Linked DNA regions of Homo sapiens: all the other regions are linked to region 1. The links are contacts of gene promoters, found by promoter capture Hi-C in blood cells and fetal thymus (Javierre and others, 2016). All regions are on one chromosome and are shown on one strand. The core of a region is centred on a gene start or on the middle of the fragment in contact, and the rest is flanking DNA. Distances in the headings are between cores, read along the strand shown. Region 1 holds the start of KRT74 (keratin 74). Region 2 has its middle 20 kb from the start of KRT18. Region 3 has its middle 3.4 kb from the start of KRT18. Region 4 has its middle 20 kb from the start of KRT8. Region 5 has its middle 4.3 kb from the start of KRT8. Region 6 has its middle 7.5 kb from the start of MIR9898.

What was found. The method cuts DNA at HindIII sites, captures the fragments that hold promoters and counts their contacts. A CHiCAGO score of 5 or more calls a contact.
Region 2: a contact is called between a fragment that was not itself captured here and the fragment with the promoter of KRT74 in region 1, in 6 of 17 cell types (naive CD8 T cells, M0 macrophages, total CD4 T cells and 3 more). The highest score is 14.3, in naive CD8 T cells.
Region 3: a contact is called between a fragment that was not itself captured here and the fragment with the promoter of KRT74 in region 1, in 2 of 17 cell types (M0 macrophages and naive CD4 T cells). The highest score is 7.0, in M0 macrophages.
Region 4: a fragment that was not itself captured here is called in contact with the fragment with the promoter of KRT74 in region 1 in 1 of 17 cell types (naive CD8 T cells); the score reaches 6.2 in naive CD8 T cells.
Region 5: a contact is called between a fragment that was not itself captured here and the fragment with the promoter of KRT74 in region 1, in 2 of 17 cell types (naive CD4 T cells and naive CD8 T cells). The highest score is 6.4, in naive CD4 T cells.
Region 6: a fragment that was not itself captured here is called in contact with the fragment with the promoter of KRT74 in region 1 in 9 of 17 cell types (naive CD8 T cells, M0 macrophages, non-activated CD4 T cells and 6 more); the score reaches 15.4 in naive CD8 T cells.

What each region holds. Positions count from the first base shown.
Region 1 is chr12:52,571,695-52,575,578 of GRCh38, reverse strand. KRT74 (keratin 74) reads left to right here and starts at 1,736. Exons shown (of 9, transcript NM_175053.4): 1 at 1,736-2,272; 2 at 2,912-3,126; 3 at 3,575-3,635. The coding sequence starts at 1,802. RefSeq lists an enhancer at 3,142-3,311. The HindIII fragment of the contact is 6,698 bases long and covers 1-3,884 here.
Region 2 is chr12:52,966,821-52,970,704 of GRCh38, reverse strand. No RefSeq gene overlaps it. Among named protein-coding and RNA genes, the nearest start is that of KRT18, 20 kb to the right of the region's middle. The HindIII fragment of the contact is 7,174 bases long and covers 1-3,884 here.
Region 3 is chr12:52,943,781-52,947,664 of GRCh38, reverse strand. It overlaps a transcript of KRT8 not described here. Among named protein-coding and RNA genes, the nearest start is that of KRT18, 3.4 kb to the left of the region's middle. RefSeq lists a silencer at 286-580 and enhancers at 1,531-2,126, 3,316-3,884. The HindIII fragment of the contact is 1,627 bases long and covers 1,086-2,712 here.
Region 4 is chr12:52,923,573-52,927,456 of GRCh38, reverse strand. It overlaps a transcript of KRT8 not described here. Among named protein-coding and RNA genes, the nearest start is that of KRT8, 20 kb to the right of the region's middle. The HindIII fragment of the contact is 7,195 bases long and covers 1-3,884 here.
Region 5 is chr12:52,907,455-52,911,338 of GRCh38, reverse strand. It overlaps a transcript of KRT8 not described here. Among named protein-coding and RNA genes, the nearest start is that of KRT8, 4.3 kb to the right of the region's middle. The HindIII fragment of the contact is 423 bases long and covers 1,821-2,243 here.
Region 6 is chr12:52,889,511-52,893,394 of GRCh38, reverse strand. No RefSeq gene overlaps it. Among named protein-coding and RNA genes, the nearest start is that of MIR9898, 7.5 kb to the left of the region's middle. The HindIII fragment of the contact is 2,470 bases long and covers 397-2,866 here.

The DNA of each region.
Region 1 (3,884 bases), core at 487-2,986:
AAGGAACTCACGCCATTTTTTGTCTTGCACACTCCAGCACAGGAGGGCGGCAAACCCAGCATCTGGCGGCACCCCTGCTGCTGCCCTTGCAACCTGACTTAGAAAACCACAAGCAACCCCTTCGATTACATGCTCCTGTGCTGTAGGGCTAGGCCCTGCCGGGAAAGCCCCCCGAGACAGGGTCCCTGGGGAAGGACCTTCCACCGTTACCTCAGGGGCTGAGAGGAAAACACCCTGTGAAGGGGAAATTCTTCCGGGGCAGCTTCCAGGCCTAAGCTCCACGCTCCCTGCCCAGGTCAGCTTCTCCTTTTCCCTCCCCAGCAGTGGGAGCAGTTGTCTTCTGCCCTCGGCTGGATCCAAACAAGCCAAGTGTTCTCAGTTTAGTTATAGGAAGTGGTCAGAGTCTTGCATGAGGGCAGCTGCCAGATACCTAGCTTTGAAATAATTTTTTTTGTTTTTTGGAGACAGAGTCTTGCTCTGTTGCCCAGGCTGGAGTGCAGTGGCACAATCTAGGCTCACTGCAACCTCTGCCTCCCAGGTTCAAGTGATTCTTCTACTTCAGTCTTTTGAGTAGCTGCGACTACAGGCATGCACCACTGCGCTCGGCTGATTTTTGTATTTTTAGTAGAGGCGGGGTTTCACCATGTTAGCCAGGCTGGACTCAAACTCCTGACCTCAGGCAATCTGCCCTCCTTGGCCTCCCAAAGTGCTGGGATTACAGGTGTGAGCCACCATGCCCAGCCCTGAAATAATTTTTTAACATTGCACTGTACCCACACTACCTGAGCTATAAAGCAGTGATACTTCCTGTTTGAAAATTGAGTGCTCCCTGAAGTTGCCAGGAAACTGGCAGAACAGCCCACCCTGAACCTGGGAGTGAAACTCAGGGGGTCCTGTTCCTTGGTGACTTCAGCCATAGGGTGTTTCCCCAGGGAGTGCAGGGGCTAATATCCCAGCTCCTGCCTGACTTCCTAGAGTAGGACAAATAATCTTATCCAGGAGAGAAAATCCAACTGGAGGAAATGCAGCTGACTGGAAAGGTTCTCATGGTTGTAAGGCAATGTCAAGGTCACCACCACCCAGGCCCTGCCCAACACAGAAGGCCCTAGACAATATCCCTGCTAGGGGGGCATGCAGATGCTGCAGAGTCATTCCTCTTCCTTCCTGGGGTCCACTTCACTGCTAGACAGCTGTGGTCCTTAGCATGGCCCAAGGACGGACCCTGGAGCTTCTTACCCAGATCCAGATCTTTGAGGACATCTTTCCAAGAAGAATCATCTTTCCATGTCTTCTTTTCCCTGAGGTAAAAATTCCAGCTTCCACACAAGACCCTATAATAGAGAGATGGTTTCTTTTGGGAAGAAACCTGGGGTTTTTCAGGTGAGTCTACTCTGGGGAAAGCCAGGCATTTCCCCTGCTCCTTGCTGATGGTTAAGCAAGAAGGAGGTAGCACTGGAAAAATAAAGCTAGGAGATCTCTTCAGGGGATAACTCTTCAGGTCCTTAATTAGGGAGCACAGATAAACTCCAAATTAGACCACTCCACTCTGCAAGGGCAGCATATTCCACTTGCTATCAGAAGAGCTTTGTTGCTGCAAAGGGCTTGGAGATCTCTGTTCTACAAATTGCCCATGGCCCCTGGCCCATCAGCAGGGGAAAGGAGATAGTGGAGAGACGCCCTTTTCCGGTGTCCTGGGCTCAACAGGGATAAAAGGAGGCAGCACTCTGGGTGCCCCATCAGTGTGTTCTCTACCCCTTGGAGACTGCTTTTCTCCAGCTCTGTCAACTCAACCTTTCCCACCATGAGTCGGCAACTGAACATCAAGTCCAGTGGTGACAAGGGCAACTTCAGTGTGCATTCGGCAGTGGTGCCAAGGAAGGCTGTGGGTAGCCTGGCTTCTTACTGTGCAGCTGGCAGAGGGGCTGGCGCTGGCTTTGGCAGTCGGAGCCTCTATAGCCTTGGAGGGAATCGGCGTATTTCTTTCAATGTGGCTGGTGGCGGCGTTCGGGCTGGAGGTTACGGCTTCAGGCCTGGCTCTGGGTATGGAGGGGGCCGGGCCAGTGGCTTTGCTGGCAGTATGTTTGGCAGTGTGGCCCTGGGGCCTGCATGTTTGTCTGTGTGCCCACCTGGGGGCATCCACCAGGTCACTGTCAACAAGAGCCTCTTGGCCCCCCTCAACGTGGAGCTGGACCCTGAGATCCAGAAGGTGCGCGCCCAGGAGCGGGAACAGATCAAGGTGCTGAACGACAAGTTCGCCTCCTTCATTGACAAGGTGGGTCTCATAGGAGGAGGATGAGGCCGCACCCTGAGGCCTGAGCAGTTTTCCTGCTGCCTGGGAATGGACTGCACACTGTGGCTGGAAAGGTGCAGCTGGGCCTCAGGAAGGGCTTCCTCACCATTAGGGAAGGAGAGTAGGTCTGTGAGCCACGGAGGACAAAGGAATACATGAATATATCGGCTTCTTTGGCGATTTTGCAGGGAAGGATGGGAAGCTGGGTAAAGAGCAGCCCTTCCTTGACAAAAAAGTGATGAGTTTCTTGAGGACAGCTGGATCTTCCAAGAACATGAAAGGCTAATAGAATCCAGCAGTGTTCAGAGGGAAGGGCTCATGGTACAGGAAGAGACACTTAGTTGAGACATAAGGAAGGACATCTCCTGGGACCAGGGCCGAGCAATAGAAGAAAGCTGTGGAAACTCCTTGAGTGAGTTCTCAGTGATGCCTTGTCCAGAAGGCTAGGAAATGAGCACTTGTAAAGGATCTAGTTTGTGTGGAATGGCAAGGGTGGAGAGTCAAGACATGAGCAAAAATGACTACAACAATCTATGGCAAACCTGGGGAGTCAATGGTGTGTGTCCAGGGGGCATGACTGCACCCATTGTGGTTCCAGGTGTCTGTTGATTTGGGTTCCAGGTACGCTTCCTAGAGCAGCAGAACCAGGTTCTAGAAACCAAGTGGGAGCTGCTGCAGCAGCTGGACCTGAACAACTGCAAGAAGAACCTGGAGCCCATCCTTGAGGGCTACATCAGCAACCTGCGGAAGCAGCTGGAGACACTGTCTGGGGACAGGGTGAGGCTGGACTCGGAGCTGAGAAGCATGAGGGATCTGGTGGAGGACTATAAGAAGAGGTGAGCAGGCTCCACCCGAGGGTCACAGACCATGTTTCCCGTGCCTCTGGGCTCACCTGATCTCTGTGCCATTATTTTTTAGGAGATGGGGGAGTATGCACCAGGGTCAGGAGCTCACATCCCTTTCTCTGGCTAGGGGGAAGGGCCTATCCTCTTTGATGATAACTTCCTGCCTAGTTGATAGGAAGCGGTTCCTGTGCTCCTTGACCCACTGAAATGTTCAGTTGCTGGTGTCGGGAGCCCAATAGGCACCTGGGTGTTTTCCTAACATGCAAAAACTAGGAGACAAGTGAAGCAACTCAGGGATATCTTACTCCTGTCACTAGCCTCTTACTGCTCACCCCAGAGACCCTGCAGGGACCCTGTATCCCAAACATTTGCCTGGCCAGCAGGAAGAGAAAGTTCCTTGGCTAAGGGGGCTAAGGCCATCTACTCTCCCTGCTGGCAGATATGAAGTGGAGATTAACCGGCGCACGACAGCAGAGAATGAGTTTGTGGTGCTTAAGAAGGTAAGAGAGGGAGGAGCCTCCTTATTAGGGTCTCTCGCACCCCCATCTTAACAACTCTGCTCAGGACTTCAGCCCAGGAGGCTGGGGAGGGGGCTGGTGCCTGGTGAGGGGGCTGGTGCCTGGTGAGGGTGGAGTCATAGTCCTGGCCTCCAGTGAGTTGGAGAGGAAAGACACACACTCAGGAAATGGACAGAGACAGACAGAATTCTGGTCTGGGAACTGTGAAACTCGGGTCCAGCTCAACCTTGC
Region 2 (3,884 bases), core at 894-3,393, 390 kb before region 1:
TGGGTCTGGTGCTAGACAGGGCTAAAGGCAGCACCAAAGTGGGCAGTAGGCCTTTGAGACCCCGACTGGACAGAGCCACACTCTTCAGGCAGGATGCTGTCTCCTTATCTAGGCTTGGGGTCTTGGGGCAGCCGGAGGGTTGGCATCCTTGATTATAGCCACAGGGATGAGACCTTTTTGTTTTGTGCTTTGGCTCAGCTCAGCCCCACTGCATGCCTGGCTGCTCCCACCAGCTCAAGATTATCTCTCTGGTGACGTGCTGCCTGGGGCTTGGCATGTACCCACCCCTGCGATCTTGCCCCTGCTGCAGCCAAGAGCAAAGTTTCAGTCTCTGGGACCCCAGCCAGACAACTCAAGGAGAGCCAATGAACTTGTATTTATGCAGTACCTACTAGCTGCCAGGCATGCAGCCAAGCCTTGGGGACTTTGTTCTCATTATTTTCTCACCTTTCCCACTGCACAAGTCTTAGCATCTCTCAGGTTTCACTTCTGCCACAAATCATGGCCATCATCCTCCCCGTGAACACCTGCAGCATTTACTGCCATGACATTCCTTGGCTTTGAATTAACCTCGTGACCTTTCTTGTATCTTTATGTTCTTAGGGCCGAACCTGAGGGTGGGGACCTGGGTCTAAGCTGTCCCACTGGTGGGCACCTTCCCTTCCTTTCCTGAACATTTTTGGAATGTAGGAGTGACCCCAGAGGAGGATTACAAAGCCCTTCTTCAAAGGAGAGGTTGAAAGTGGTGCCCGGGTTCTATAAACATTTGCACTGAGCATTCCTAAATGACAGGGAGATTTATAGTTTGAGTGCCTTCCCATTACGAAGACTGTTTAAGTGACTTGGGAAAGTTTCTTTAAAAAGAAAAAAAAATGGAGCAGATTAAGATGAGATTTTATTTTTCTTTTTTTCCTTAAAAAGAAAAAAAGGCTAGGCGAGGTGGCTCATGTCTGTAATCCAAAGGCTAGGTGAGGTGGCTCATGTCTGTAATCCCAGAACTTTGGGAGGCCGAGGTAGGTGGATCATTTGAGGTCAGGCGTTTGAGACCAGCTTGGCCAACGTGGTGAAATCCTTGTCTCTACTAAAAATACGAAAATTAGCTGGGCGTGGTGGTGCACACCTGTAATCCCAGCTACTGGAGAGGCTGAGGCGGGAGAATCGCTTGAATCTGGGAGGTGGAGGTTGCAGTGAGCTGAGAAGCCGAGACCACGCCACTACACTCCAGCCTGGGTGACAGAGTAAGACTCCGTCTCAAAAAAAAAAAAAAAAACAAATTCTTCCTGGGCTTTCTTAAAGCTGGGGTGTGTGTGAAGCGAAGCTGAGGAAGTTCAATTGTTCTCCCACTAAGTTCTCTTTCCTGGAACAAAGAGGACCTGCAAAGAGAGTGAGAGGACTGCTGGCATCTTGAAATATTCTTCTACTCTCCTTTGTCCTCTTTTCCTTGGGTGAGGCATGCAGAGACTCCTCTTGGTTTGTTATTTGCTCATTTATTTGTTCATTCATTTGCTTATTCATTCAAAAGCTAGTAAGAGAAGATTGTTAAATTTGAAAATTTTGCTTCCCAGAATTAAACCATTTTAAATCAACCATGACAGCAGTATTTATACCTTGGATATTGGCAAATGCTATAGGTTATTAAATAAAATAAAATAACATTTTATTTACAATTTAATAAAAATTACAATTTCAAATTTTTGTCTTTAAAAAAGAAAATAACAACCTGCTGTTTATGTGTTGGAATTGTGTTATGTATCAGGGCATAAGAGTGAACAAGATAGTCCAGTCTCTGCTCAAAGGGAGCTTACAGTCTGGTGCTGCACTGTCCTGTCCAATCTGGTAGCCATTAGCTACTAGCTACTGCTGTGGTTATTAATTTATTTTTTAAAGTTTTTAATTTTGGCTGAGTCTGGTGGCTCATGCCTGTAATCCCAGCGCTTTGGGAGGCCGAGGCAGGTGGATCACCTGAGGTTAGGAGTTCGAGACCAGTCTGGCCAACATGGCGAAACCCCGTCTCTACTCCAAATCCAAAAAAAAAAAAAAAAAAAAAAAATTAGCCAGGTGTGGTGGTGGGCGCCTGTAATCCCAACTACTCGGAAGACTGAGGCAGGAGAATCACTTGAACCTGGGAGGCGGAGGTTGCAGTGAGCCGAGATTGAGCCAGTGCACTCCAGCCTGGGCAACAAGAGTGAAACTCTGTCTCAAAAAAAAAAAAGTTTTTAATTTTTGTGGGTACCCAGTATGTGTATCTATTTTAGGGTACACGAGATATTTTGATACAGGCATACAATGCATAATAATCTCATCAGGGCATCCATCACTTCAAGCATTTATCCTTTATGTTACAAACAATCCAATTATACTCTTTTAGTTATTTTTAAATGTACAATAATTTATTTTTTTTGAGACGGAGTCTTGCTCCATTGCCCAGGCTGGAGTGCAATGGCATGATCTTGGCTCACTGCAACCTCTGCCTCTCGGGTTCAAGCAATTCCCCTGCCTCAGCCTCCCGAGTAGCTGGGATTACAGGCATGCACCACCATGCCTGGCTAATTTTTGTATTTTTAGTAGAGACGGGGTTTTACCATGTTGGTCAGGCACGTCTTGAACTCCTGTCCTTGTGATCTGCCCGCCTCAGCCTTCCAAAGTGCTGGGATTACAGGCATGAGCCACTGCACCCAGCCTTAGGCTGGTGCTTTTTAAACTTTTTTTGCTTCTGGGGAGTGGGTGATAGGGAAAGTTCTGCCAGCCTGGGAGGGGCCCACTAGAGCCTGCTGCTCCAGTGTGGATTGTGGGGAGAGGAAAAGGAACTGTGTGCTTTGGGCCCAGATCACTGGAGTGCCCTGAGTCTCTGAGAAGTTTACCCTACATCCCTCCTGTGGCAGCACCATCCACTTCACCAGGATCTGACCAGGGCCTTCAGGGGGACACAGCCTCCCCGGATCTGAGCATCACTATCATTCTAATTCCTTGGGCTGTTTCTGTGTAGATAATTATTTTCCAGCTCATTCAGGCAGGTGAGGTTGAGGCCAGCAGTGCAGCTAAATCCTTACACCGTGACTGGGGCTGCTTTTATACAGGTTAGGGGAAGAATAATCACTTATGGCTGAAATCTAATGGAAGAGGGAGTTCTGTGTAACTCTAGTGGGCAGAGCTGAGTTTAGAAGGTTAGTAGGAGGCAGATTTCAGCCCAGTAGAAGGAACAATAATGTTCCAGTAATTATACAATTATTATCCAACAGGGGCTATACTGTCATAAATTCTTCAAACGGAGGCCAGATGTTAGGAAGGCCACAAAGAGGATTCCTACTGGGAGAGGCCAAACTTGAACCATCTGTTTATTTATTTTATTTTATTTATTTATTTTTTTGAGAATGGAGTTTCACTCTTGTCACCCAGGCTGGAGTGCAATGGCACAAACTTGGCTCACTGCAACCTCCGCCTCCCGGGTTCAGGTGATTCTTTTGCCTCAGCCTCCCAAGTAGCTAGGATTACAGGCATGCACCACCACGCCTGGCTAATTTTGTATTTTTAGTAGAGACGGGGTTTCTCTATGTTGGTCAGGCTGGTCTCGAACTCTTGACCTCAGGTGATCCACCCACCTCGGCCTCCCAAAGTGCTGGGATCAGAGGTGTGAGCCACCACACCGAGCTGGTAAGTATATTTTTATTTTTATTACTATTTTTTTTGAGACAGAGTCTTGCTCTGTTGCCCAAGGCTGGAGTGCAATGGCAAGATTTCAGCTCACTGCAAACTCCGCCTCCCAGGTTCAAGCAATTCTTCTGCCTCAACCTCCCAAGTAGCTGGGAATACAGGCGCATGCCACCACGCCTGGCTATTTTTTTTTTTTTTTTGTATTTTTAGTAGAGACAGGGTTTCACCATATT
Region 3 (3,884 bases), core at 650-3,149, 370 kb before region 1:
CTCTACTAAAAATACAAAAATTAACCAGGCACAGTGTGTGCCTGTAATCCCAGCTACTCAGGAGGCTGAGGCAGGAGAATCGCTTGAACCCAGGAGGCAGAGGTTGCAGTGAGCCAAGATCGTGCCGTCGCGCTCCAGCCTGGGCAACCAGAGCGAAACTCTGACTCAAAATAAATAAATAAATAAATAAATAAAAGTAATGTGTCCTACATCGCATGGGGCCTGAGAGGACAGGCAGGCACTCCTAGGACCATCATAGCAGCGACCCAGCCCTGGTGGCCAGTGCCCCTCCCCTCTTTTCTAGGACTTTTCTCCAAGCCAGTCCTTCCCCTGTCCCCCCTTGTAAGGGCTGTCTGGATTAGAAGCCTGGCCCCAGGGGACTGCATCCTCCAAGATGCTCTCCCCAGCCTCTGTGTGAGAAGGATGGAGGTAGGGAGGCTTTCATGCTGCCTGCCCCCTGAAGCTGAATGACCATCCCTGCTGAATGAAGTGTTGGGGGGAACCCTTAGGTGTTTGGCCTTCAAGTTTGTCAGCTCCAGCAGCTCGTTTTTCTGGCAGGGCCTGGTATGACACATTTGGCTGTGTTCTTTGCTCTGGAGTGGACCTATTGATTCTTATCGAGCTACCAGCTGAGGGGGAAGGGGAGGACAAATAGTAGGGCAGACCTGGGAGAGAAGGGACCCTGGAAAAGCCTGGCCAGTGGACCTGCCAGGTGGGAGGCAGAGCACAGATAAAGAGCCTGAGCCTGGATTGTTCCTGATCTGTCACCTAATGGTGGGGAGAGCCCCACAGTGCTCAATGGGAGCCAGCCAGGGGGCAGTCAGGGTGGAAGCTGGCCAGGGGAGGGTCGGGGCCTGCTGAAGGCTGGGAGGCAAACGGGATGCAAAATAACATACAAATGAATGCCCACTGGTTTTGCATACAAGGCTTCTGGGAGGTAAGAGGTTCCAGTCAGAGGGGTCTCTCCTGCTTTCACCTTTATATTCCCCCACTGGATTCCAGAACTGTCAAGTTGGGCAGTATTTTATAATAAAGTATGTGGAGTCAACAAGCTACGTACTGCCTTTTACTGTTATTGCTAAGCTTTAAGTCAGCCAGCCTGGATACTTTGCTAGCTGTGTAACCTTGGGGAAGTCACCTAACTCTGAACTTCAATTTCTTCACTTGTACAGGGAAAACAGTAAGACCTGTCCAGTCTATTTCCTCAGGTGGCAGTGAATGTGAGTGTAAATTGTCACTCACTCATTCATCAAACAAATACTAATTATTTGTACTGGAGCCTTCCTTCAAAGTAAGGAAGGCTTCAATATATACAGGAGGGCAGATAAAGGGGGTCAATTTAATTCGAAAGACGGGCTCAAGGGGTTTGAAGTCTGTCTCTCTGAGTCATTTAAAAACCCTGGGGCACTTTGAAATCTACCAGCAATCAAAACAGATTCTAGAATTTTTCTCCAAGCTAATTCCCAGGTCCTTGTCTGATTCCTGCCCCACCCCAACTGCTAGGAAACTTCTGGGACCTGTGGAGGTGCAGCGTGGGGGCTGGAGAGGGAGAGCTGCCAGCTAGACTTTATCTCTCCTACTGATGTCGATGGCCACATTCCTGACTTCTTGCAGCATGGGGCAAATACCGACCTCGGGCTTCCAGCACCAGCCTGCCCCTTTCCACCACTTCCAGATTCCTCTGTGGCTCAGGGCTTTTTCACTTTGTCAGAGAGCCTCTTGGAGAGCTGGGGTGAAGGTCTCGGCCTCCAGATTCCCAGCACTAGGGTTCTGGGGTGGGGGTGGGAAGCAAGGTGGAAAGGGGGATGGCGTGATTGTGAGGACAGTCCCGGGAAAGGGTGGAGCAGGAGGGGCCCTGGTGAGAAGCTCCCAGAACAGACACAAAGAGTAATGAGCCTCGGCAGGGGGGAATCCGGAAAGAGGGGAAATGGTTCTCCACCCACCATCAGTCCTGCATTCCAGCGTCCAGCAGAAGGGGAGTGGGAACCTGTGAGGCAGGTTTAACTTCAGAGTAGACTCAGAGATGACCCGATAGGGGTGGGTCAGCTCTTACTGCCCACTCCACATTCTCCCACAAAGGGCTTGAGCTGATGGCTCTGGGGAAACTAGGTGGTGGAGAGATGAGAGGATTAGGGAGGATTGGAAGGCCTGCAGTCCTTCCGCCTTTGCTTTAACATTTAGGCTGGAAATTCCTTGCTCAGCCTGGAGGAGGGAGGTGTTCGGAACAGCAACTGAGGTGTAAGGATGGGGTCTATACACAAAACAGGGAGAGACTGATTCCCATCCTCTTCTTTAAAGACTGAGGGTGACTCCAGTGTGTTGGAGACAGTGAGAAGGCCCTGTGGTGGGGTGGGCTGGAGGGAGGAAGGGATCGCCTGGGAGGCTCCCCTGGGCTCCTTTCAGCTACTCTCAGTGGAGGGTATACCCATGCAGGGGGCCCTCCCACAGGAGAAATCCCAGGGCTGCTGAGTTAAGGGTAGAGCTGTTGAGACAGAGGGAGATCTGGGGTAGAACCCAAAGGAAAAGGAATCTGGGGTGGAATGGGAATCCTCCTGCCCAGCCCTGCATCTGGCACATAGGTGGAGCTCCGTAAATACTTTAGGTTTAAGTAATTAATAAACATGGGGTGCTAGGAGAGGTCAGTGGGGGTCATCAGAAAGTGCAGTCAGGTAGACTGCAGAGAGACAAGAGGTGGGGGCAAGGGTACAAGCTTCAGAGGCAGCTGCGGAGCAGGGGGAGGATGCGGGTGGCAGCTGGGTGCAGGACCCAGTCTGATATCAAGACTTCTGGAATTTCAGCACCCTATTTGGAGTCCCTGGCACTGCCTGTGGAGGTGGGAACGGGTTCTCAGGGCTTGGGCCAGGCCCTCTTCCCCAGGGGTGGGAGAGTCGAGGAATGCCCTGACACTTAGTATCATTGCTTCGGTTGGGTTTGTGCCCTAGGGGTTATTTTCCAAGGATAAAGGAAGAGGAAGGGTCAGCGCTGAGAAGCGTGTGGCTGCCCAGAAACCTCCAGGCGCTGAAGCTCAGAGAAGTCGGGGAACCTGGCCCTTCTAGGAGCCCCTCAGCTCCCTGGCCCAGCCCCACCAGGAATGGCCTTGCCTGTGCTTATGTCCTTTGCCCATTCTGACCCTGGTGCTGTTGGCTTCTCCTCAGGTGCAACCCCAGTATCCCAATGCCATATCCCCCAGCCTATCGCCTCACTCAAATCTGCCCAGAGATTAGGGGAGGGCAAAGGGATGAATAGGGCACTTGGTGTCAAAAGACCTGGATTCGGCCAGGTGGCTCATGCCTGTAATCCCAGCACTTTGAGAGGTTGAGGTGGGAGAATCGCTTATGGCCAGGAATTTGAGACCAGCCTGGGCAGTATAACAAGACCCTGTCTCTATGAAATAATAAAATATTTCAATATTTCACAATATTCCCCACTGCTGGCTTAGTGATCTTGAGCAGCCTTTACTAGCTTGGTCTCTCCTCAGCTGTAGAATGAGAAAAATAGTAATATCCACTTAGAGAGTTTTCATGAGGACCAAATGAGATGACGTGCCTGGAAGAGCTTTGGCAGCTGAGAAGCCAGCTGACCTCCCCTCCTGTCTGCTTTGCCCCATTTGCTCCTTTTCTTCCCAGCCCCCTTGTTCTTTTGCACTTACTACTCTCCAGCCTTCTGCTCCCTGCTCACCACTATTTTTTTCCATCTAACATGGGCTCAGGGCAGGGTGGCTAAGACTGAGTCTTTGAAAAGGGGGGTGAAATGGAAGAACAGAGTGGCCAAGAACCTATCTCCAGATCATCCAGTCAGCCGGCTCTGTCTCTGTCAGCCTCTTTCCTGGCCTAGGCTGGGCAGGTTCTGCCAGCAGTGTTTAGGGAACTATCCTGTGAGCAGCT
Region 4 (3,884 bases), core at 818-3,317, 350 kb before region 1:
TTCAGCCTCCTAACACCCAAGTGTCTCCCTAGGGACAGGCAGGAATTCCAAGTGTCCAGGCTCCCCACCCTTTCCCCAGGGGAGGCCCAAGGGTGGTGAGTCACTGAATCTGGGCCCCTCTTCACCCTCTCACTGTTCTCTGGCTTGTCCTGCTGCTCCCTTGGGCCCACCTATTTCCTGCTGGAGTTGGGGAGGGGTGGAGAGAAGGACTGGAACTCTCCTGGGTCTATCAAACTGAGTGGTGGTGAAGGTGAAGGGGTCTTCCTGTCCTGAATCTCCTCCCTGGGGTGTGTCCAGGCTGTGGACACCCTTCTGAGGCTTAGCTCCCATCTCTGGTATCCATGAAACAATCACAGCTTCTTTCCTCCCTTGGGGGGAATCCTTGGGGTCCAGGGTAAGGGACAGAAGATAGGAAAAAAGCAATGTGGGAGAGAGGAGATAGGGTCAGAGTAGAGAAGAGGACTCATGGGATAGAATTGAATCATTCATTCATTCATTCATTCATTCATTCATTCATTCAGTGAATCAAACAAGTTCCTGTGCTGGGTGTGGAGGGAAGCAGAAACATGTATAAGACACGCCCCTACTTTTGAGGAAGATGCCTTGGCGCTGATGTGCGGGCCCTGGACTTAGGGTACAGGACTCCGGTTTGAGCTCTGACTACTACTTGCTGGGCACATTACTTCTTAGAGCCTTGGATTCCTCATCTGTAAATAAGGATAAGAAGACTGAACTCCCAAGGTCCTTGTGAGGGTCAAATGAGACAAATATGGAAAATGCCTCATTAATAGTGGATGTTCAGTGCATGCTAAATGACTGTGGATCAGGTTTACAATCAGGGAGGGGAGCTCAGACATGCCCACAGCAAGTGTAACCCAGCCCAGGGGTGTAACAAAGCCCTATTCTTGGGGTCTCTATAGGAGTGGCCACTTCCGGCAGAGGTGACTGGGGCAGGCTTTGTGGGGAGGTGCCTGATGCATGATTTTCATTCAGCAAATGTTTGCGGAATGAATGGGGTGAGCTGGAGCCAGGACCTGCAGGAAGGGTAAGGTTTCAACAGGTGCAGGTGACAAGGAGGTGCTTCAGGAGAGGAGGGCACAGTCCTGGGGGTGGGGTGGGGAGGGCAGCTAGTGCCAGGTGGGGAAGGCTAAGCCTCAGCCACCAGATGAGGAATTTGACCTTTATTCTGAAGGCAACGGGAAGCTCTGGGCTAGGGAGTGACAGGATCAAAGCAGTGTTTGTAGAAGATCAGTCTGGCTGGGCACTGGAGAGGATACCTGAGCGAGCAGGAGAGGTGGTGGGGGGCGGGGGGCAGGGACACACCAGGCAGAGGGACAGTGTGTACATGTCTAGAAGTCTCAGGACAGGCAATTATGTCACCCCCTTCCACTCTGCAGAGGGGGCCTCTCGCACCAGCCTGTCTCCAGGGCAGGTCTCACCAGCCTGCTAGGAGGGAGCTTGAAAGGGAGGTGGGGAATTTCTCAGGGACACAGAGAACATGAGAACACTGCCTCCTTTCTCCTCCTTCCTCCCCTACCTGGGGCCCAGCTCAGAGTAATGGGCCCTGAGGGGGAGAGAAACGCAGCCCTGGAACTGGAACCTGGGTCCCTTTGTTGGTAGGCTCCACCTCCTGTCCTCTAAGATAGAGGGCTGGAAGAGACAAAGAAACTATTAGGCCCCATTAAGAACTGTGCATAAACCCTAGAACTCAGGAACAGAGGGATAATTGAGGTGATAGTATTGCCCAGCCCTGGAGCCCAACTTTCCTTGAAGGGGAAATTTCTGGCCTGGGGCTGGCTGGTAGGAATCTAAAGCCTTAGCCTTTGTGGAGATGAATCATCCTAATCTATCTCTTTGACCCCACCTCCGCCAAAGAGATCCCTTTTGCTCCAATCTCATTCCTGAATGTGCCACACTTCAGGTATCAATGGGGCAAGGCCAGGATGACGGAGGGGGATACCTGCAGGGGAAGAGGTGTTGAGCAGGTTTCTGAAAATGGTGACCATTTCAGACCCTAAATGGCGCCATTCATACCTAAGTGCTGAGTGGTCTCACAGTTTTAGGTATGCTTCGGGGCCCACAGTCTCTCCCAGCCTCCAGCCCTGACTCAGCCTGAGCCCCTGGGAGCCAGAGATAGCTATCCCAGCTATTCAGAGGAAGGAGATAAGGTTTATGGCTCTGGACAGGCTCACCCTGGGGAGACTGTGCATACACACCTCCTCCAGCTGCATTCCTCCCGGTCCTGACCTTGTCTTACTCAGTCTTTTCCTGGAATTACTACAGGAAATAGTGAGCTGTCTGAACGCACCATTTTCAGAAAACTGCCTAGCACCTCCTCCCCTGAAGGTATCCCCTCAATCATCCCGGCCTTGCCCCATTGAGGTCTATACAACATCTTTTTCTTGGCTTCTGGGCAGGCCTGATCCCATCTAGGACCAGTGAGAAGGGGGCCCAGCCCTGTTCCTTTTCCACAGACGCATCCTCCCCATTCCTGGTCACTCATTTCTGCTCCAATGACTCCTTGAATTAGTAAGTCCTTCCTTCAGTCTACCCTTTCACTCCCTTTCGGTGCTTAGTTAAGGAGAGGATGCTCCTCTGTGCGTTGGCTGTTGCCGCAGACCACAGAGTACAGCTGAGGGTCCACTTCACTCCAGGAGCCCTTTAGCTGAGGGGAGGAAGGCAAAAGACAGAAGGAACGGTGAATTCTTAGAGAAGAGTGCATGGTCTTTTCCCATCACAGTAGTGTCCTATACAGTAGTGTCCTATACAAGCAATTATCTTTACAAATTACAATTATCTTTACAATTATCTTTACAAACATTATCATCATATAATTTATTTTATTTTTAAATTTTTATTTATTTTTTTGAGACAGGGTCTGGCTCTGTCGCCCAAGCTGGAATGCAGTGGCCTGTCATAGTTCACTGCAGCCTCAATCTAATTTATTTTACATATGAGAGAACAAAAGCTGAGAGCCCAAATCAAGTATGATTTTTTTTTTTTTTTTTGAGACGGAGTCTCCCTCTGTCGCCCAGGCTGGAGTGCAGTGGCGCAATCTCAGCTCACTGCAAGCTCCGCCTCCCGGGTTCATGCCATTCTCCTGCCTCAGCCTCCCTAGTAGCTGGGACTACAGACGCCCGCCACCATGCCCGCCTAATTTTTTTGTATTTTTAGTAGAGACAGGGTTTCACCGTGTTAGCCAGGATGGTCTCGATTTCCTGACCTTGTGATCTGTCTGCCTCAGCCTCCCAAAGTGCCGGGATTACAGGCATGAGCCACTGCGCCTGGCCTAATGTATGATTTTAAGTATAATGCTTTTGGCCGGGTGTGGTGGGTGGCTCACAACTCGGCTCATGCTGAGGCAGGCGGATCACCTGAGGTCAGGAGTTTGAGGCCAGCCTGGCCAACATGGTAAAACCCCGTCTCTACTGAAAAAATACGAAAATTAGCCAGGCGTGGTGGCGGGCGCCTGTAATCCCAGCTACTCGGGAGGCTGAGGCAGGAGAATCGCTTGAACCCGGGAGGCGGAGGTTGCAGCGAGCAGTGATCATGCCACTGCACTCCAGCCTGGGCGAGAGCGAGGCTCCGTCTCGAAAAAAAAAATATATAATGCTTTTCTCACTACACTGCAAGCACTTTAGGCAATTCAAAGCTCTAAAATCCATATTAATTTAAATGTAATAATACAGGTAATTTTAATAATTTCAAAAATTAATAATTAGTAATAAAAATAATTTAGAGCCGGGCGTGGTGGCTCACGCCTGTAATCCCAGTATTTTGGGAGGCCGAGGCGGGCGGATCACGAGGTCAGGAGATTGAGACCATCCTGGCTAACAAGGTGAAATCCCGTCTCTACTAAAAATACAAAAATTAGCCAGGCGTGG
Region 5 (3,884 bases), core at 783-3,282, 340 kb before region 1:
ACTCTGTCACCCAGGCTGGAGTGCAATGGTGCAATCTCAGCTCACTGCAACCTCCGCCTCCTGGGTTCAAGCGATTCTTCTGCCTCAGTCTCCCAAGTAGCTGGGATTACAGGTGCCCACTACCACGCCCGGCTAATTTCTGTATTTTTAGTAGAAATGGGGTTTCACCATGTTGGCCAGGCTGGTCTTGAACTGCTGACCTCAGGTGATCAGCCCGCCTCGGCCTCCCAAAGTGCTGGGATTACAGGTGTGAGCCACCACGTCTGGCCTGATGGTCACTTCTCAACAGGGACTTTCAGGAAATACCTTGCCTTGGTCAAAGGAGACTCCTACCTCCTTTGGTTTGAGAGGACCCAAATACTTCATCTCCTGAAATTTTTTAGACTACTGCCTGATAAGCAAATATGTGGATAAATGAAAAGGTGAATACAGGAAGGAATAAAGGCCTCTAGTCCCTGTCCCCAACTCCCACCTTAGTCCTCAGGTTGCCCAGCAGGAAAATCAAAACAGTGGGCCTCTGGATATCAGCTCCAGTGCTAAGCAGCTCAGGCCAGGGGAATCCTCAGGGCTGGGGTGGGGGTGGGCAGGATGCCTATAGCGGAGCCCCAGGTCCTTCCTGTTTGTTCTTTTCCTGCACTCCTGTCCGGTTGCCTGAACACCATGAGGGCTTCCCCTATCGCAATGTCAGCTTCTGAAGTTTCCTTGAAATCCTCTCAATAACTTCCACTTCCTGTCACTCAAGTCCCCAGTACCGCTGTCTTCACTGTCAGGAGTGGGACCCATTTGTGTCTGTCCTCTCGCAGTCTCTGTCTCTGTCTCTGTGGCCCTGGCCAACGGTGGTGGAGTTTCAGGTTCTGGGGACTGAACCACTCTGTTTTCCTTCCTGAGGGACAGAGTATATCACCCTTTCTAAGCAGGAACCTGCAGTGCTGTGGATTTGAGCTCTGGCCTATTTCCTCTGGGAAGAGGAAGAAAGTGTGTTCCTAAAGGTCTTGGTGTTGGGACCAGAGCTAAAGCCTGGTGCCTGACTCTGGCTGTACCGAGGAAGCTTTGAAAATGCAGACGGGGTGCGACCTGAGCACGTATACTGTTATAATCTCCCACGGGCGATCTTGATGTGATGGAGAACCAGAGTTAAGGGGAAGGACTCTGTGGACTGAGCCATAGCTGGGACCTTCCGCCTAGGCTTCATGCTCACCCAGTGGGATGACCTTCTTGGTTTGGCATCAGTGGAGAGGAGGGTGAGAGAATGTTGAAAATGTGAGAAAGGCTGTGTGCAGTGGCTCACGCTGTAACCCTAGTACTTTGGGAGGCTGAGGCAGAAGGATTGCTTGCATCCAGGAGTTCGAGTCAGGCTGGGCAACATAGTGAGATCCTGTCTCTAAAAAAAAGAAAAAAAAGTGTGGGAGACCTCAACATCTTCAGGCTGCTGGGCTTGTGTCTCCTTCCTCCACAACAAGGCTGTGCTGTCCTCCCTCACTCTTGTTCTAATAATTTCTAATCATATCTCTTATCACAAGCAAAATTTCAAACCAGAGAACATTCACAGATTTTCATCTTCAGTGCGTAAAGCTCTATGGTGGTGGATGTGGATCAAAAGCTTTCAGAGTTGGCGGGACTTGGACATTCTAATTCAAACCCTAGCAGATGTGAGAACCCCCTCCCACTGAGCCAGTGGACAGCTGGTGAGCAAGGTCCCTCTCCATGTCTCCAGGTACAGGAGGTTGCTCCCTCTCTAGGCAGTCCATTTCCATCCTGGCTGGCTTTAATCATCAGATCCATCACTGATCAAGAGCAAAAAAGTCAGCATTTGCTAAGCTTTGACAATGAAAAATTTTAGCCTTGAGGCACATAACACAAAATTAGCAATCGAATTGACTCTATTATTCATGATGCTGCTTCCTGAGGGGTGTACCCACCACCTGTGGCTTCCTATTTAAACAAATTGTTCTGCTGTCTCTATGCTAAATGCAGCTATTTCTATACCAATAATAACATTTCAAAATGCTCCATCATTTAAAGGGATTTCGGGTGCTTTTCGGGCATTGCCTTAACCCAGAGGCAGGAAGCCTCTTTACCTGGGGCATCTAAACAAACTCTTTGCTTCTTTCCCCTGACCCCTTATGCTGGGCACAAAGCCCCTGCTTTTTATATGTAGCTCATTTATGCTTTTGTGGTTATCTTTTTGTTACAACTTTGTTGAGCTGTAATTCACATACAATATAATTCAACAATCTGAAGCTTGCAGTTCAGTGATTTTTAGTATGTTCACAGACTTGTGCAGCTTCACCATCATCAAATTTGTTTATTTATTTATTTATTTTTGAGACAGAGTTTCACTCTGTCTCCCACGCAGGCTAGAGTGCAGTGGCACAGTCTTGGCTCAATGCATGCGGCCTCAACTTTCGGGGCTCAGGTGATCCTCACAACTCAGCCTCCAGGGCAGCTGGGACTACAGGCGTGTGCCGCCATACCTGGCTAATTTTTGTATTTTTTGTAGAGACGGGGGTCTCATTATGTTGCTCAGCTGGTCTCAAACTCCTGGGCTAAAGTAATCCTCCTGCCTCGACCTCCCAAAGTGCTGGGATTATAGGTAGAGCCATTGTGCCTGCCCACCACCATCAAATTTAGAACATTCTCATCACCCCAGAAAGAAACCCTGTGCTCTTTAGCATTCATCTCCATTCCTCCCCTCCCTAGGCAACCACTAATCTACTTCCTGTCTCTATGCTTTGCCTGTTGTGCACATGTCATATAAATGGAATCATAGGGTACCTGATCTTCTATGACTGTCTCCTTTCACTGAGCATACGGGTTTCAAGGCTCATCTGCATCCAACATGCATCAGTAGTTCATTCCTTTTAATTGTAACATTAGATCGTATGGATATGCCACATTAAAGAAATCCATTCGTCATTTGGTGGACATTTGTTTTGTTCCCACTCTTTGGCTATTATGAACAAGGTTGCAGCGAATGAGATCATCAGTCCTGATCTCTAAGCAAAACTTGTTCAGATCCCGGGAGGCGGAGCTTGCAGTGAGCCGAGATTGCGCCACTGCACTCCAGTCTGGGTGACAGAGCGAGACTCCGTCTCAAAAAAGAAAAAAAAAAACTTGTTCAGACCATCTCTTCCCATGATCATGAGTGATGATAACAGCTACCTCCCCACCCCACTGGCCCCAAGACTTAATGCCACTGCTCAGGGTCTCAGGGCCTTCTCTGAATTATCCTGCACCATCAGAAGTAGGGGGCCTGGCCCTCACTCTTGGCCCACAGGGAGTGAGTGTCTCCTCCTTCCCTGGTTCACTCTCCAGGAAAGGCGGTTTGAGGCAGAGTTGTCTGGGTAGGGCAGGCACCGCAAACACGTTGTTCCCTTTTGTCCGGCAGGCAGCTGTGTGTAGACCACAATGCCTTACAAGGAGTTGTACCTGTGGGCCTGCTCCAGTCTGGTTCTCTCTTCCCTCACCACTTGGCCCTAGTCCCAGGGGCCTTCTCCTTCTGCCTTTAACCCTGAAGTCCCAGGCAGGGGCCATCAGAGAGGCCAACTCTGGCCTCTTCTCCTGCACCGAGGCTGTGCTTGGGGCATCTGGGGGAAGGTTTGGCTGGGGTCTCTGGGCAATAGAGAGATGACAAATGAGACACAAACACTTCTGGCCCTAGACGGTTCTGGGCTGCCCCAGAAAAAAAGGGCTTCCCCTGGCTGGGTAAGGTCTGGGTCAGCCCTCCAGCCTGCATACTGCAGGGTCCCTGGCAACCCCCTCTGTCCTCACCTTAAACAAGGGACACTCCTAGAACCAGGGAACCAGAAAGGTGGGGTGGAGGGGACTGGAATTTCAGGAAAGGCTTTGGGGTGCTGTTTTTTTGCTCCTTGTGCTGCCTAGAT
Region 6 (3,884 bases), core at 382-2,881, 320 kb before region 1:
GTCAGCCAGTTTCTGTTCCAGAGGGCAATTAATGCTACCAGTTTCCTGTGATTCATTCCAAGTAGAAGTTATTATATATAGTTACATAGGGACATACATGCATACATTTCTATCTATCCTTCATGAAGGGTATTGTACTATATGTGTTGTCACATGCCTTGCTTTAACATTCACCCAATACCTGTTCCTTCCATATCAGTATACAAGTTGCTTCTCCACTCTTTTTCACAGCTGCATAATATTCCACTTTGGGATGTGCCACAATTTACTTAACCAGTCCTCTATTGGTATTTGCTATGACAATGGTGAGGATATCTTAATAATTCCTACAAGTGGAATTGCTGAAGCAAAATGTGTGCACATTTAAATTTTAGTAGACTTTTTGTTTTTAAAGCTTGATTTCCTATGGGACTGAATTTTAGTTTTTTAGAAAATTTACATGTGTAGAAGAAGGTTCCTGTTTGACTATTCCAGATGAGCCAGCCATTATCCCCCACTTCCCTCCACCCTGCCTTTCCCGACCCAACCACCCAGGATTAAAATGATGAGTCTTCCAAGCATTTGTGGACTCTTCTGAAGATATTTTAATTCCAAGGTTTTGCTCTGCCTGCCCGCTGATCTGGGCTAAGGTGGTCTAGGAGCTCCCCTGTAGTAGGGGGATCTGAAGGTGGGCTAAGGACCGAGGGCCAGGCTGACTGGAGTGTAAGGTGGTGGGAATGGAGGAGTGAATGTTAAAGCAAGGCATGTGACAATGCGGACAGTACATACCCTTCATGAAGGATAGATAGAAATGTGTGCATGCATGTCCCTACGTAATTATATATCATAGATTCTACCTGTTGGGAAAGGAAGAGGAAGCACCACTGCAAGGAAAGGAAGGCAGGGAAGGATACCAGCATGGTGGGTGGCCCCCTAGTTCACTCTCCGCGCTGCCCTTTTACACATTGTGGTGGGCATAGTTGCTTTGTCTAGCCAGGACCCCTTCCCCCTTCTTCTAGTAATGCAAAGCTCCCCCACCTCCACTCCTGCCACGCCCCACTTCTTTTCAGGAACTGTTCCTCCTAAGATCACAGGACCTCTGTCCAGGCACACAGGGTTCACAATGGGCCAGCCTTGGCCAATCACAAGTCCCTTTGTTTCCTCCTTGCTGAGGCATATTGTACATACAATAAAATGCAAAATGTGCTTTAATGGGGAATGTACAACCTGATGAGTTTTTTTATTTTTATTTTTATTTATTTTTTTTGAGATGGAGTTTCACTCTTGTTGCCCAGGCTGAAGTGCAATGGCACGATCTCGGCTCACTGCAACCTCCGCTGCCCAGGTTCAAGCGATTCTCCCGCCTCAGCCTCCTGAGTAGCTGGGACTACAGGCATGCGCCACCACGCCGGGCTAATTTTGTATTTTTAGTAGAGACGGGGTTTCTCCGTGTTGGTCAGGCAACTCCCGACCTCAGGTGATCCACCCGCCTCAGCCTCCCAAAGTGCTGGGATTACAGGCGTGAGCCACCGTGCCCGGCGCCTGATGAGTTTTAACTTATGTTCACACCTGTAATGTAGAACATTTCCTATATCACAGAAGGTTCACTTGGGCCCCTTGCCAGAGTGCACTTTTTTTTAGTAGACTTATTTTTTAAGAACAGTTTTAGCTAGGCGCTGTGGCTCATGCCTGTAATCCCAGCACTTTGGGAGGCTGAGGCGGGTGGATCACGAGGTCAGGAGATCGAGACCATCCTGGCTAACATGGTGAAACCCCGTCTCTACTAAAAAATACAAAAAAATTATCTGGGTGTGGTGGCAGGCGCCTGTAGTCCCAGCTACTCGAGAGGCTGAGGCAGGAGAATGGTGTGAACCCAGGAGGCAGAGCTTGCAGTGAACTGAGATCATGCCACTGCACTCCAGCCTGGGCGACAGAGAAAGACTCCGTCTCAAAAAAAAAAAAAAAAAAAAAAAAGAAAAAAAGAGCAATTTTAGGTTCATAGCAAAATCGAGCAGGAGGTAGAGGGTTCTCATACACATTCTGCCCCTACACCTGCATCCCACACCAGAGGGCTACATTTGTTACAACATCATCAACATCCCACCTCAGAGGGATACATTTGTTACGATTGATGAACCTACATTGACACATCATTATTACCCACAGTCCATAGTTCACATTAGAGTTAACTCTTAGTGTGGACATTCTGTGGGGGCCATGTAGCCACCATTACAGTACCATACAGAATAGTTCACTGCCCCCAAAATCAGAGTGCATTCTCAAAAATATGAATCAGATTCAGTTACTTCCTTATATGGAAAACCCTTTATTTTTATTTTATTTTTTTCTTTTCTTTCTTTATTTTTTATTATACTTTAAGTTCTAGGGTACATGTGCACAACATGCAGGTTTGTTACATATGTATACATGTGCCATGTTGGTGTGCTGCACCCGTTAACTCGTTAACTCTTCATTTACATTAGGTATATCTCCTAATGCTATCCCTCCCCTCTACCCCCACCCCACGACAGGCCCTGGTGTGTGATGTTCCCCACCCTGTGTCTAAGTGTTCTCATTGTTCAATTCCCACCTATGAGTGAGAACATGCGGTGTTTGGTTTTCTGCCCTTGCAATAGTTTGCTCAGAATGATGGGAAAACCCTTTACTTTTGACACCCAGAATAAAGCCCTAAATCTTGACTTGGCCCACAGGCTGTGCCTACTCTTCCTCCTCTGAGGCCTCATCCTGGCCACTCTGTCCCTTGCTCTCTGATGCAGTGGTGCAGGCTTTTCAGGGCATAGCCTACATGGAATTTGCTTCTGCTCAGGGCATTGCATGGCTGGCCCCCTGCTTGGAACACCCTGCCTTTCCTAGTCACTCCCAAGCTTTCCGCTCAAACGCAGCTTCCCCAAGAAAGTCTTCTGACACCACAAGACAAGACAAAAAGTTTTATGACACCACAAGACAAGAAAGTCTTCTAGACACCACAAACTGAGTGGCGTGTTTCTATGATAAGTTCCCAAGGCACCCTGTATTTTCTCCTTGTAAATTACAGTCACTCATTCATCTGCAGAGGTATTTTATTAATATCAGCCTTTCCCCATACACTGTAAGCTCCATGAGGGCAGGGACACACCATATCTGCTTGGTTCTCCACTGATTCTTCAGTGTTTAGCAGAGTGCCAGGCACATAGTAGGTGGTCAATAAAAATTATCAAATAAAAAGGAATGAACCATTTCCATATTGATAGCCATCTTTTTTATTTTTTTGAGACAAAGTCTCTCTCTGTCGCCCAAGCTGGAGTGCAATGGCATGATCTCGGCTCACTGCAACCTTCACCTCCTGGGTTCAAGCGATTCTCCTGCCTCAGCCTCCTGAGCAGCTGGGGCTACAGGCACATGCCACCATGCCTGGCTAAGTTTTGTATTTTTAGTAGAGACGGGGTTTCATTATTTTGGCCAGGCTGGTCTTGAACTCCTGACCTCATGATCAACTCACCTTGGCCTCCCAAAGTGTTGAGAGTACAGGAGTGAGCTACCGAGCCTGGCCCAAACAATTTGGGAGTTTGATAAGTTTTTTTTTTTTTTTTTTGAGACAGTCTCACTTTGTTGCCAGGCTGGAGTGCAGTGGCATGATCTCGGCTCACTGCAACCTCTGCCTCCTGGGTTCAAGTGATTGTTTGGCCTCAGCCTCCTGAGTAGCTGAGACTACAGGCATGTGCCGCCACAACCAGCTAATTTTTGTATTTTTAGTAGAGACAGGGTTTCACCATGTTGGCCAGGGTGCTCTCGATCTCCTGACCTCATGATCCGCCTGCCTCAGCCTCCTAAAGTGCTGGGATTACAGGTGTGAGCCACGATGCCTGGCCAGCCATCTATTTCTTTTTCTGCAATTTTAACCCTTT